3 separate regions of the Homo sapiens genome follow, and regions 1 and 3 are each linked to region 2. The links are contacts of gene promoters, found by promoter capture Hi-C in blood cells and fetal thymus (Javierre and others, 2016). All regions are on one chromosome and are shown on one strand. The core of a region is centred on a gene start or on the middle of the fragment in contact, and the rest is flanking DNA. Distances in the headings are between cores, read along the strand shown.

Region 1 (4,314 bases), core at 139-2,638, 1.1 Mb before region 2:
AAAGGTAAACTTTAGTCTTTTTTTTTATACTTTAAGTTTTAGGGTACATGCGCACAACGGGCAGGTTAGTTACATATGTATACATGTGCCATGTTGGTGTGCTGCACCCATTAACTCGTCATTTAACATTAGGTATATCTCCTAATGCTATCCCTCCCCCCTCCCCCCACCCCACAACAGTCCCTGGTGTGTGATGTTCCCCTTCCTGTGTCCATGTGTTCTCATTGTTCAATTCCCACCTGTGAGTGAGAACATGCGGAGTTTGGTTTTTTGTCCTTGCGATAGTTTGCTGGTAAATTTTAGTCTTTAAAGTTTGGTATTCTCATTGCACGATGGAGAAGACCTAAGAAATACAAAAGTAAAAGCACTATTGGGTGCATTCCTAGACATCTCTTACCCCAGGCATTTAGGGGTGGCTCAGGCCAGCAAGTTAGTTTAGGGGGCAGAAAGGGAAAAACTAAAGTCTGTCATGCTTGTCAGTCTAGTGTGGTTCTTAGCAGGCCGTTGCTCAGTTGGCAGTAGTCATTTAATTACAGTGGGTAGAGAGGGCTAAGGTGATAAACATCCAGTCTTCTCTCTCCCTGCGTCTCATCTAGAAACGATCACTAGCCTTCATCCCCACATTATAATGCTCCATAGCTTTAATTGGCTGGCTTGTGCATACCTTATGTACATGGACTTAGCAAGTGTGCATACACTTGGTGTCCACTGTGGGCCTGGACCTATCTCACACAATATTTTGGGCCCAGTAGCCTCCTCATGTAGGTAGGTATTTAGCAAATACTAAGTAAATACCTGTTGGGTAGCAGATTAAACATTTGAAGATTTCTCTTGAGGATAATAAACACTTTGGTGTCCACCCTCCACCTCCTTTCATTTTGTAGGCATCAACATCGAAAGCTACCAGGCCTTGGTATTCTCATCCGGTATATGCAAGATACTGGCAACATTATCATCAAGCAATGGCTTGGATGCAAAGCCATCACAATGCCTACAGGAAGGCCGTGGAATCCTGTTTCAATCTTCCATGGTACTTACCTTCTGCGCTTCTTCCCCAAAGCTCTTACGATAATGAGGCTGCGTATCCTCAGTCCTTCTATGACCATCATGTGGCCTGGCAGGACTACCCCTGCAGTTCTTCACATTTCAGAAGATCTGGGCAGCATCCACGTTACAGCAGTAGGATCCAGGCATCCACAAAAGAAGACCAAGCTTTGTCCAAAGAGGAAGAGATGGAGACTGAGTCAGATGCAGAGGTAGAATGTGACCTGAGCAATATGGAAATCACTGAAGAGCTCCGCCAGTACTTTGCAGAGACCGAGAGGCATAGAGAAGAACGACGTAAGTTCAGGCCTCTGTCTCTTCATGCTTCCTTTCCTTGCCCTGCCTTTTACATTTTTTTTCTCTAATATATAAAGTAATTTTATAATTCTTCATTGGCTAGGGTAATATTCCAAATCCAGTCCTAAGCCTGGAAAAGCTATGGGGATGCTGTACCTTGCTTATGTTAGTTTCTGGAGTTGTTTTAGTATAAGACATTTTTTTGTTCCAGAACAAAGCTTATCCTAATAGTAGTTCTACTATTTATTAACCATTAGACACTCTACCAAATGGAGTGTGTATGCATGCATGCTTGTGTGTGTGCGTGCTCTGATCTACACAGCAGTCCCTCAGAGTATTAAACTCATTTTATATATGAGGAAAGTGAACCTTAAAAAGGTTAATTGACTTGTTCCGTGGTACACAACTAGTAATTTGCTGTTAGGATCCAAACCAAATCTGCCTACCTCTACTTCCTGTACTGCTTTCTGTATACTAGGACTTGTCCCTGAGACTGCTAGGTTCCTAAAATACTTTTGCCATTCCTCTGGGACACATCTTGGAGATGTCCTTGGTGCTAGAGGTCCCAAATCTTAAATAGCATGAACCTAAACAGAGTAACGAAATGCCTGGCACTTACAACTTTCCTGTTGGTTCTGCATTGAGGCCCTGTCCATGGGGTCAGAGAATTATGATAAAGGTCTTATATCTTCAGTCAAAAACAGGAATTTTCTTTTTAAATTTCTTACCACCTTACTAGAAAGAACTAGAACAGCTTTTGTGCTCTCCTATTAAAATTCACCAGACCATTTCTAAGTACCTCTAACTGAGATACAAATGCTTCTTTCCCTATTATAACCAGTATTCATTCTCAATTTTGTTTTAAGTGAGGCCTAATTGTATGACATTTTACCTACAATTTTCCAATGACACAGAAGCGTAGAAACCTGGGAATGGGAGTTTCATTCCTGTCTGTCATTGTCAGCATTTTCCTAATGATGAATTAGCTTTTATTGATCCCCACTGGATGCCAAGAACTGAGCACTGGGCTTTGTATAAAATATTATATCCTTTAGTATCTTCGTCCGTGATTCTTCACTAAACTACTTGTTCAGATTTTTTTGACTTCCTTTCTTTTGTTTAAACTGTGTACTTCTTTAAGCATATTAGAAAGTATATCCAGCCAGGTGTGGTGGCTCACACCTGTAGTCCCAGCAACTCGGGAGGATGGCTTGAGCCCAGGAGTTTGAGGCTGCAGTGAGCCACGATCACACCACTGTACTCCAGCCTGGGTGACAGAGCGAGACCCTGGCTCAAAAAAAAAAAAAAAAAGAAAAGAAAAGAAAGAAAAGAAAAAGAAAAGAAAGAAAGAAGTATATCCAAACAAATACTTTTAAGACAGTACTTTCTATTACACACAGAATACTTTTGCTTGATCTCCAGAAATAAATTTTACCCTTTTTAAAAATATAGATACGAAACAACCATTAGTCTAATATATACAACAAATGAGAAGCATTGGAGCATGTCCATGTTTGGGTTGGAATGCTGTTTGTTACAGCTTTTGACAGAGAAAATGGGATGGAGATCGAGTTTATTACTCTTGTCCTTACCAGAAAGTAGAATAACATGTTTTGCCCACTAGAGGTTGATACTTTTATGATGGAAATTGTAATTATGGATGGAAGCAAATCCCAGTCATCTCAAAGGTGACTTTGAATTATCTGCTGGTTTAAAATAAACTTGAGTTAGTCAATAAAAAGTGGATATGAATAAAATAAAGATAAAACAATGAAATGTGTCCTTGCACCAAAGAAAAAATGTGAACGGTTCAGTTACAGATATTGTTAACAACCATCCCTATTCCTCCCTCTTGCCATTGTTAGGTAGAACTCTAGGTAGGTAAACAAAATCATGAAAATTACCTGCTAAGTCATACTTGCCACTTAATATTATTTTGAGTGAATAAATGAAGTCTTTCAGTGTGAATTAGAAGCCTTAAATCAGAGGTTGGCAAATCTTACCCATAGAGTGCTACACTTGCAGTGATTCTGTGGGACATTTTACAGAATGAGCTAGGCCTTGTGTGCATTATAAACTTGATAAGCTTCATCTCTGTGTTTCATATTATTTCCAAATCTGTCTAGTTACTTTACGGCTCCAAATTGCACTTTCATCATCTGGGTTGAATTGTATCTCCCCAAGAAAGATACAGTGGAATCCTAACCCCCAGTTCCTCAGAATGTGACCTTATTTAAAGACAGGGTCTTTCCAGAGGTAATTGAGGTTAAGTGAGGTCATTACAGGGATCCTAATCCTATGTGACTCAGGTCCTTATAAAAAGGGCAAAATCCGGACACAGAGACAGACACACATGCAGTGAAAACACCATGTGAAGATTGACATTATGTCGCCACAATCCAAGGAACATCCAGAAGGTGGGAGAGGCCTGGAACAGATCCTTCCCTAGCACCTTTAGAGGGTTTATGGCCCTGCCAACACCTCGATTGCAGACTTCTGACCTCCAGAGCCATGAGACAATACATTTCTGTTGTTTTAAACCACCCAGTATATGGTACTTTGTTATGGCAGCCCTAGGAAAGGAGTACAATCACCCTGGGAGAATTTTCTTTGTCCCCAAATGCAATCTGTGACTGGGACATAAAGTAAACCCACAGTTCTTGTCATCTGTCTGAAAAAACTGTATTACTTATTTGTTTTACTGTGATCTAGATAGCAAACCATCATAAAAGGGAATTTTATGAAAACCCTTGCAACTTCCATCTTGAACCTCATTTTCCAGTATTCATATTATTGCTGGCAACAGTGTATGGAGGCAGCTGTGGCAGAACTGCTTGAATCACAGAGGTCCAGCCTCACTCTACCACTCGCTGATTAGAGGTTCTCGTCCTCCTGTAAGCCCCCTGCCTTCACCATTCTTTGCCTCAGTTGCCTCACCTATGAAATAGGATCCTAATTAGTGGGTAGTAATTA
Region 2 (3,773 bases), core at 952-3,451:
CAGCTTTTCAGAGAAAGCATACTTAGAACTTCTATTTTGCTTTCTAAAATCAAACCAAGGTGGCTGGTAAATACATTTCAGCTCTTCCTGGAGCATTTCTAGCCACCTAAAAAAACGGACTGTGCTTTTTAACAAAAGGACCAAAAAACTGTTGATGTTCTAAGGCACTGATTCTTAACTTTGGCTGCACAGTAGAGATACTTAGGAACTCTAAAAGCTACAAATGCCAAGCCCTGTATCCAGAGATTTTGGTTTCATTGATCTGGGGTTCAGTCTGGGCAGCAGGAGTTTTGAAAGCTCCCCCTCTGATTTGAGTCCATTGCGAAGGCTAACAACCTCTGCCTTTAGGCAGGAGGTCAGCCAGGTCCTTGACCTCCATTGGCCACCAGTGGGAGCAAAGTGGCCATTTTTTGCAAGTTTAATTTGATTTTATTATTACTCTATTTACCAATCTGTTGTTGTTGTTGTTGTTGTTGTTTTGAAACAGAGTCTTACTCCGTTGCCCAGGCTGGAGTACAATGGTGCGATCTTTGCTCACTGCAACATCCACCTCATGGGCTCAAGCGATTCTCCTGCCTCAGCCTCCTGAGTAGCTGGGACTACAGGTGCGTACCACCACACCTGGCTAATTTTTGTATTTTTAGTAGAGACGAGGTTTTGCCGTGTTGACCGGGCTGGTCTCTACCTACTGACCTCAAGTGATCCGCCCACGTCGGCTTCCCAAAGTGCTGGGATTATAGGCGTGAGCCACCGGGCCCCGGCTATTTACCACATTCTTACAGTACAATTATACTGGCTATCACAGCAGCTTACAAATATCAAGTAGGAATTGGATAATTTCAACTGCAATCCCATATGTGTCATTGGCCCAGTTGACCGAATTCCATATGGGCCACCTACAGTCATTTTGTAAAGCATTGTAAAATTTTAGTGCAGAATTAATTTACCTTCAAGATCCATAATGAACATTAGGTGGGTATAAAAATTAACTTCAGGCCGGGCGCGGTGGCTCATGCCTGTAATCCCAGCACTTTGGGAGGCTGAGACAGGCGGATCACCTGAGGTCAGGAGTTCGAGACCAGCCTGGCCAACATGGAGAAACCCCGTCTCTACTAAAAATACAAAAATTAGCCAGGCGTGGTGGCACACACCTGTAGTCCCAGCTACTTGGGAGGTTGAGGCAGGAGAATCGCTTGAACCCGGGAGGCGGAGGTTGCAGTGAGCTGAGATCACGCCACTGCACTCCAACCTGGGTGGCAGACCCATTAACTTCAAAAGACTTAAGTGTACTTTAAATTGTTGTCAAAATTAACTCCAAGGACTTTGGGGAAAAATATATAGTACATTTTGGATGAGACTCTCTTGAAATCAGACTTTTCAATTGCTCTTAAACCTCATTGAATTTTCTAGAAAATGTATCATTTAAAAAGAAGTGTAAAGTTCATTTTTAGTCTGACAGTTCTTGACAATAACAAAAACGGACCACCTGCTATGTCTTGACAGTGTAAAATAATAATTACAGAAATTGTAGCATGTTATTAGGTTGGTGGAAAAGTAATCACAGTTTTTTGTACCAACCTAATTATTTAAAACTCTGACCAAGAAAAGTAGCAATTAATGTCGAACTTTAAGCCTCCAACAGTAGGTTAAGCTCAGGCTTCACTAGGATCTAGCAATTGACCTATGTATGTGAAGGAAGAGAGTTTGTCCTTTTCTACAGAAATAGCAAAGGAAGAATATTTCCCTCACCTTCTCTTCCAACCCTGTTGTTCTGGAAGAGGATATTGTCTCTGGTAGGGCCAGTAAGTAATATTTCCAGTTCAATTTCTAACTTGAAATTTTCTTATTTTCCTGTCCAAATTAGTAAGATCATCACTGCATTTGATTTTCAAAATTTACTCTCTAATTCCTTTATACTAACGTGTGCACAAATTAAAGATCATAGCAAGCCGCTTTACCTGCATTTACAGTTGTTTCGATCTTTAATTTTTATCCTTATTTGCCCATTTATTACTTTCTAGGCTCACACCATTTGCCACCAACCCAGATTTCTGGGTCAGAAACCCCATATTCTGTTGGAAAGCTTTGCTAAAGAAATAGAAGTGGCTTACCATGTTTCTGTTGTTCTAATTTTTCATTCCGTAACTTGCAGCAGCGCAGAATGGTACCCTCTATGCAGGAGGTGGCCGAGAAGAGAAACTGGCTAACTTCCTGAAATGGCTCTATTTACCATCAGCAGAACGTAGCGTGTGTTTTACAGAAGTTTACATGAAAAGAAGGGAACTTGTGATTTCTTAGCTGTTGCCAAATCATTAATTGACTGTGCTTTAAAACTTTGAAACTGAAGTTATGGGAAAAAGTCATTTATGAAATGATTTAAATACAACCCAAATCAGACACACACGACGTATTTTTGTTAGTTTTTGTGTATTTGTGTGTACAGGGGAGAAAAAGGGAACATTATTCCATTCACTAAGAAAACTTCAGTGTATTCTTTTTTAAAAAAGTTACCATAAATTTGTACTGAACTTCGGATTTCTCAAACTCGTCTTCCTTGTGTAATTCACAGATGTAGGCGAATAACATGAACATTGCTTCATCTTTGTTCCACAAGTTTCTGAGACAGCACCGGTAGGTATGGGTCTCCCTCCCACTGGGCTGTGGCCGCAAAGCGAGCATCTTTCTCCTGGGCGCCCCATGCCTCCTCCAGCACCTGGCATGTAGTATAAGCTCAATGAGTGTTCATTGTATGAACGAGTGAGTCAATGGCTGAGCATTCGTGAGGCTGGAAAATTTAATCTTCCCGATTTAGTCTGATAAATGGATTCCATTTTATGCTCGGAGAGCAAGGGCCTCAAAAGGTGTAACCAAGAGCAGAGGTCAGCAAACTGCAGCCTTTGAACGAAATCCGGCCCAGAAGTGAAAACATTTTTAGATGAACATTGGCAATGGATTTGCTGATACAGAACACTAACTTTAAATTCCAACCAAGCAGAATGTTAGCACCTCCAAAAATGATTCCATTCTTCTCATTATTAAACCTATACTACAAAAAAACTGCCTTCGATTATTATTATTACATTTTGAGTTTCATCAATTACATAATTGTGGAAATTTTTATTTTACTATATAAGTAGCTACATAATATGCCAAATTTGCTTCTTGGCCTGTAAAACCTAAGATATTTGCCATCTGGCCCTTTACAGAAAAAGTTTGCTGACCCCTGGCCACAAGAATAAAGTTTAGAACGGGATGTGATATGTTTCATCTTGCCTTACACCCCAGGAGTGGGAGAAAACCAAATTGGCAGCAGGGTGGGCAGAGATGACATCCATATATAAATGGACTGTGGAACACCTTGTTATGAAGGAAGGCCTGTCAGCAGTCAAAGAATGGCTTGGGTGGGTATACCTAGATGGACCTCTAAAGATCACACCCTAAGGGAATTCAAGACCTGGTGCATGGTTTGAGAGGTGATTCCTGTGACATCAGAGAGTGCAGCCTGGGCCTTCATGGGCAAACCAAAAACATTTGTGATTGTAAACCCAAAGGCCTCGGCTGGCCGCATCCAAGTCTCTTGGTTTCCCTCCAAACATTTGCTTGGAAATAAAGTAAAGAAAGTAAGTAAGAATGGATCGAGTGCAGTGGCTCACACCTGTAATTCCAGCACTTTGTAGAGGCCGAGGCAGGAGGATCACTTGTGCTCAGGGGTTTGAGACCAACCCGGGCAACATGGCAAAACCTTGTCTCTAAAAAAATACAAAAATTAGCCA
Region 3 (4,235 bases), core at 1,571-4,070, 1.1 Mb before region 2:
TTCAATAAAATACCCACACATCCACTGTGGCTAAGGTTGAACTGGAGTCTTATTTTAGACAGCAGAACTAAAAGAAAATAGCACTCACCCTGGGTAGCAGAAATGCCTGAATTTATATAACACCTATATTCACAGAGTTAATGTACAATTTAGTGAAATTAAATTAATTAATTTTTAATTGCACAGAGGGTCCACTCTACTCCTATTTTTAATTCTTTTGTAGGAAGGAAAAAAAAAGGCTCCAGTGAGTTGTAATTGTGCCACTGCCCTCCAGCCTGGGCAAAAGAGTAAGAGCTTATCTCTAAATAAATAAATAGGCCAGGCAGGCATGGTGGCTCATGACTGTAATCCCAACACTTTTAGAGGCCAAGGTGGGCAGATTGCTTGAGCCCAGAAGTTCGATACCAGCCTGGGAAACATGGCAAAAACTCATCTCTACCAAAAATGCAAAAATTAGCTGGGCGTAGTGGTGTATGCCTGTGGTCCCAGCTACTTGGGAGGCTGAGGTGGGAGGATCACTTGACCCTAGGAGTTCGAGGCTGCAGTGAGCCGTAATCATGCCACTACACTCCAGCCTGGGTGACACAGCAAGACTCTATCTCAAAAAAATTTTTTTAATTAAAAATGAGTGAGGGTAGGGAGCATAAATACATCCTTCTTTTGAGTCTCCACAGCACCTAGCAACCTGCTTTACACATTCAAAATATGTCTTATATATTTGAAATATGGGCTATTTATTGATTGGCTGAAGGAAAAGATCCTTGAATTCCATAAATTATGATTCTCTAATTTATCTTTTATCATTTCTTCTTTTCCTCATTCCATTGCTTCTTTCTCAACTGGAGGTAAATTTGTCCCAGGATGAAGTCTATGAATGGAATGGATGAAGTGTCATGGAAACAGAATGGAGCAAATCCAAGTGTGGGTTTTTTTTTTATAACTATTGATTTCTTGACTCTGCTTTCAGTTTCCATTGATTTGTTGGTGTTAACTGGATTTATGACTACTATGCTTTGTTTCTGTGAGTCAGTATTCTATTTTCCCTGAAGCAACATGTCTGTTGTACACAGGCCATCTCCCTGAGACCTCAACGCATCCAGAAAACAGCCAAGAGCTGAGAAGTAAGCAAAATATCTCTGAACAACCAAAACAGGTATCACCATGTCTCCACTGTCCAAACACTTACATAAGATGGAACACCTTTTGGAGCTCTCTGCACATAATTCTAGTCAATTCGTTTGTGTGATTTTCCTAACAAGGCATGTTAGAAGCAGCAAATTTGTTGGCAGGTTAGGAAGGATAGGTTGCCAAAGGCTGGAACACTGACAATCATTAAAATGACACCTGATAGACTAAAAGTGAGAAAAAGAACAAACAACAAAAAAAGAAAACATGTAAAAATAAGAACCAAGGAATCAAAACTCAAAAGAGATTTGATCATGCCATGTAGAGGCAAATAACCCTATATTTGTATTGCTCATTGCATTCTAGTGTGGGAGAGAAATTGACATTCATCATGGTAAGCCTGAGATATAAAGACAAGAATAAAATGTGCTCAGGAAACTGTTGGAGAAGACAGGAAAGTACACAATAGATTTTAGAAAGATTTCTAGTCAAAATGGTTTTGTTGTTGTTGTTTTTGTGTTTAGAGGAGTAAACATCAGTTAATGGGGAAAAGAAGATTCATAAGTCATTTAAATAGGCCACTTCTTTCCTAACAGACTGGACAAATTGGGCATTACTGTATTTCAAACAAAGCACGAAAAATCTCTTTAGAAGTGTCTCATTCTACAAATATACTATAACCGCAATAATGTGATTTAGGAGGGAAAGAGAGAGACACACACACAAAGACTGCTACTAACTCCTGGACAGGTTAGAAGTTATTACCATTCCATCTTTCTTGCCATTGTTCCCCAACCACATATATTCTCAACTTTTACATAGCTATTAGCATAATATATGATTTATTTTGCTTTGACTTGACTTATCATTCATCACATACTTTCCATGTGCCTATATAATATTCATAATTTTCATTTTGATGGCTGCCTAATAGTCCATGTTCCTAAATTGCTTTCAATTTTACCAATTATCAATAAACAATACTGCAATAAACACCTTCACATATACAGCTATTCTGTCCTTGTGTAGTTTTGGATTACTATCAAACAATAAATTCACCAAAGTGAAATTAGAAATATATCTAAATTAAGAAATGTATTTGAACAGTGACTTGCTTTACGAGGTTGTGGTGAAAATGAGGTTGTAATACCAGTCAAAGCCCTCCTCCCCAGATTAGCAGAAATTTAACTCCTCACTTGACTCTCCCCCACTTCCCTGAATTGCCCAAGAACCCAGAGATTCATTCAGTCAAACTCTTAGCAGAGGGAAAACTAGAGAATCTGACCACCGTCCAGTGGACACTTCTTGACGCCTGCTGTTGCTTCAGTTACTCAGTTACTCCTGTCCTATGGCACATGCATCTAATGAGTGGATATCATGGCTCTTAAACCATGAACTCACAACACCCATGTGTGAAGAGGGCCCCGTGGGCATCATTGTTCCTCTACTAACAGATGAAGATAGGCAGGCTCTGAGAAGTAGTGACACAACCAGGAAGGGACAAAGACAGACCTTCCATCCCTCGGACAGGGATTCATCCATTTCACCGTGCAAGCTCATCATGTACAAGATCCATGCCAAGAAAAATCTGACAGTATACAGGGACAGGACCTGATTTTTTTTCTTAATGTAGAAGGGTGATTCTGCACAGTATATGTAGTTGTGCTTCTATGTCAATGACCCATAAAATATCTTGTGAGGACAGAAAACATAACATACGTAAAATTATGCTCTAAAAAAGCCTTACACATTGTTGGCCTCAAATTATTTTAGCCAGTTGAAATGAAAATTATTTAGAGATTAATTTTAACCTAATTCGGATTTTGTTGAAGATGTAGTAACTTTAAAAACAATGTGAAAGAATAGAGCTGGAAACGCAGTAGTGAAATATCATCTAAAAACAATACACTATTGAATTTTAGATGTATAGAGTCATTTACATGTGACTGACATGTGTCACTACAGCCTATGACTGAGAGATTAATGCACTTCCTTTTAAAAGCATTTCTCCAATACTTTGTACAATTGTGCCCTCTGCCGGATGCACATGGGTATTATTTTACAGGGCTATACATAGGAAACAATGCTTTATAATCACATCTTTTTAAAGTAAAACTTTTCAATACTTGAATTCTGTGTATATTTCAGCAATTAGTTGGTTCTATCCCACACAAACTTCCTAATCCTCTTTTTAAATTACTGATAATCTCATTTACAGAAATCAAAACATTGTTAAAGATTAGCTCAGTACTGTTTAGTGCTGTCAGCTGAGTAAATTGTTACTTCTCAAAAAAGAACTCATAACTAAATATAAATATGGATAAATCTCTTGAAAGTTTCTCATATCTCAATAAAATGCATAATGAAACCATTTATTATCATATTTAAGTTTACAAATATCCACCCAATTATTGTCTCATTTCGTTTCATTATTTAAAAATATTTATTCCCATGTAGCATACTGGATTTCAATGATACACAACAAAATAATATGTGGTCTCAATTCTCAAGAATTTTATTATTAAATGGAAAATGGTGAGAAGTAAATGAACAACTGCAGAGTAGCACATGCCATGAACACTGGGATGTTCCAGATTCCCCTTCAATGAGGAACTTGCGGCTCCAGTCACAGAGAGCCTCCTTACGCAATGTCACACCCCTTTTCAGGAGCCCACATCCAATGACTGATCCATGCTGGAGAAAAAAGTGCCCACCATATCAGCCCAACTTTCTACAACTCAGAAGGGCCATTCTGGCTCCCTAAATCCCCTGGGGTTTACCACAGTTGTTAGGCACACATTCAAGCTCAGCCCTTCTCTCTACCCCAGTGGTTTTCAACTGAGGGCAATTTGCTATCCCCTCCTTCCCCACCACCAGCATATTTTGCAATGTCTGAAAACACTTTTGGTCATCACAACTGAAGGGGAGGGAGGTGTGTATGTGTGCTACTGGCATCTAGTGGGTAGAGCCCAGGGATACTGCTATGCATCCCATAGTGCACAGGACAGCCCCACAACAAAGTGTTACACCTAGTCTGAAATGTCTCTATGCCACAGTTGAAAAACCCTGTTCTATCCAATCTCGTGCTTTCCTTTCCCTTTCATAGGTGT

What was found. The method cuts DNA at HindIII sites, captures the fragments that hold promoters and counts their contacts. A CHiCAGO score of 5 or more calls a contact.
Region 1: a contact is called between a fragment that was not itself captured here and the fragment with the promoter of TLR8 in region 2, in 2 of 17 cell types (naive CD4 T cells and total CD4 T cells). The highest score is 5.5, in naive CD4 T cells.
Region 3: a fragment that was not itself captured here is called in contact with the fragment with the promoter of TLR8 in region 2 in 1 of 17 cell types (neutrophils); the score reaches 6.6 in neutrophils.

The regions. Positions count from the first base shown.
Region 1 is chrX:14,017,105-14,021,418 of GRCh38, reverse strand. GEMIN8 (gem nuclear organelle associated protein 8) reads left to right here. Exons shown (of 5, transcript NM_001042479.2): 4 at 885-1,341. Among named protein-coding and RNA genes, the nearest start is that of GEMIN8, 11 kb to the left of the region's middle. The HindIII fragment of the contact is 347 bases long and covers 1,215-1,561 here.
Region 2 is chrX:12,905,048-12,908,820 of GRCh38, reverse strand. It overlaps TLR8 (toll like receptor 8), which reads right to left and starts at 2,201. Exons shown (of 2, transcript NM_138636.5): 1 at 2,112-2,201. The coding sequence starts at 2,114. It overlaps TLR8-AS1 (TLR8 antisense RNA 1), which reads left to right. Exons shown (of 5, transcript NR_030727.1): 3 at 488-605; 4 at 2,570-2,631. The HindIII fragment of the contact is 3,594 bases long and covers 2,086-3,773 here.
Region 3 is chrX:14,038,441-14,042,675 of GRCh38, reverse strand. No RefSeq gene overlaps it. Among named protein-coding and RNA genes, the nearest start is that of GEMIN8, 11 kb to the right of the region's middle. The HindIII fragment of the contact is 7,534 bases long and covers 1-4,235 here.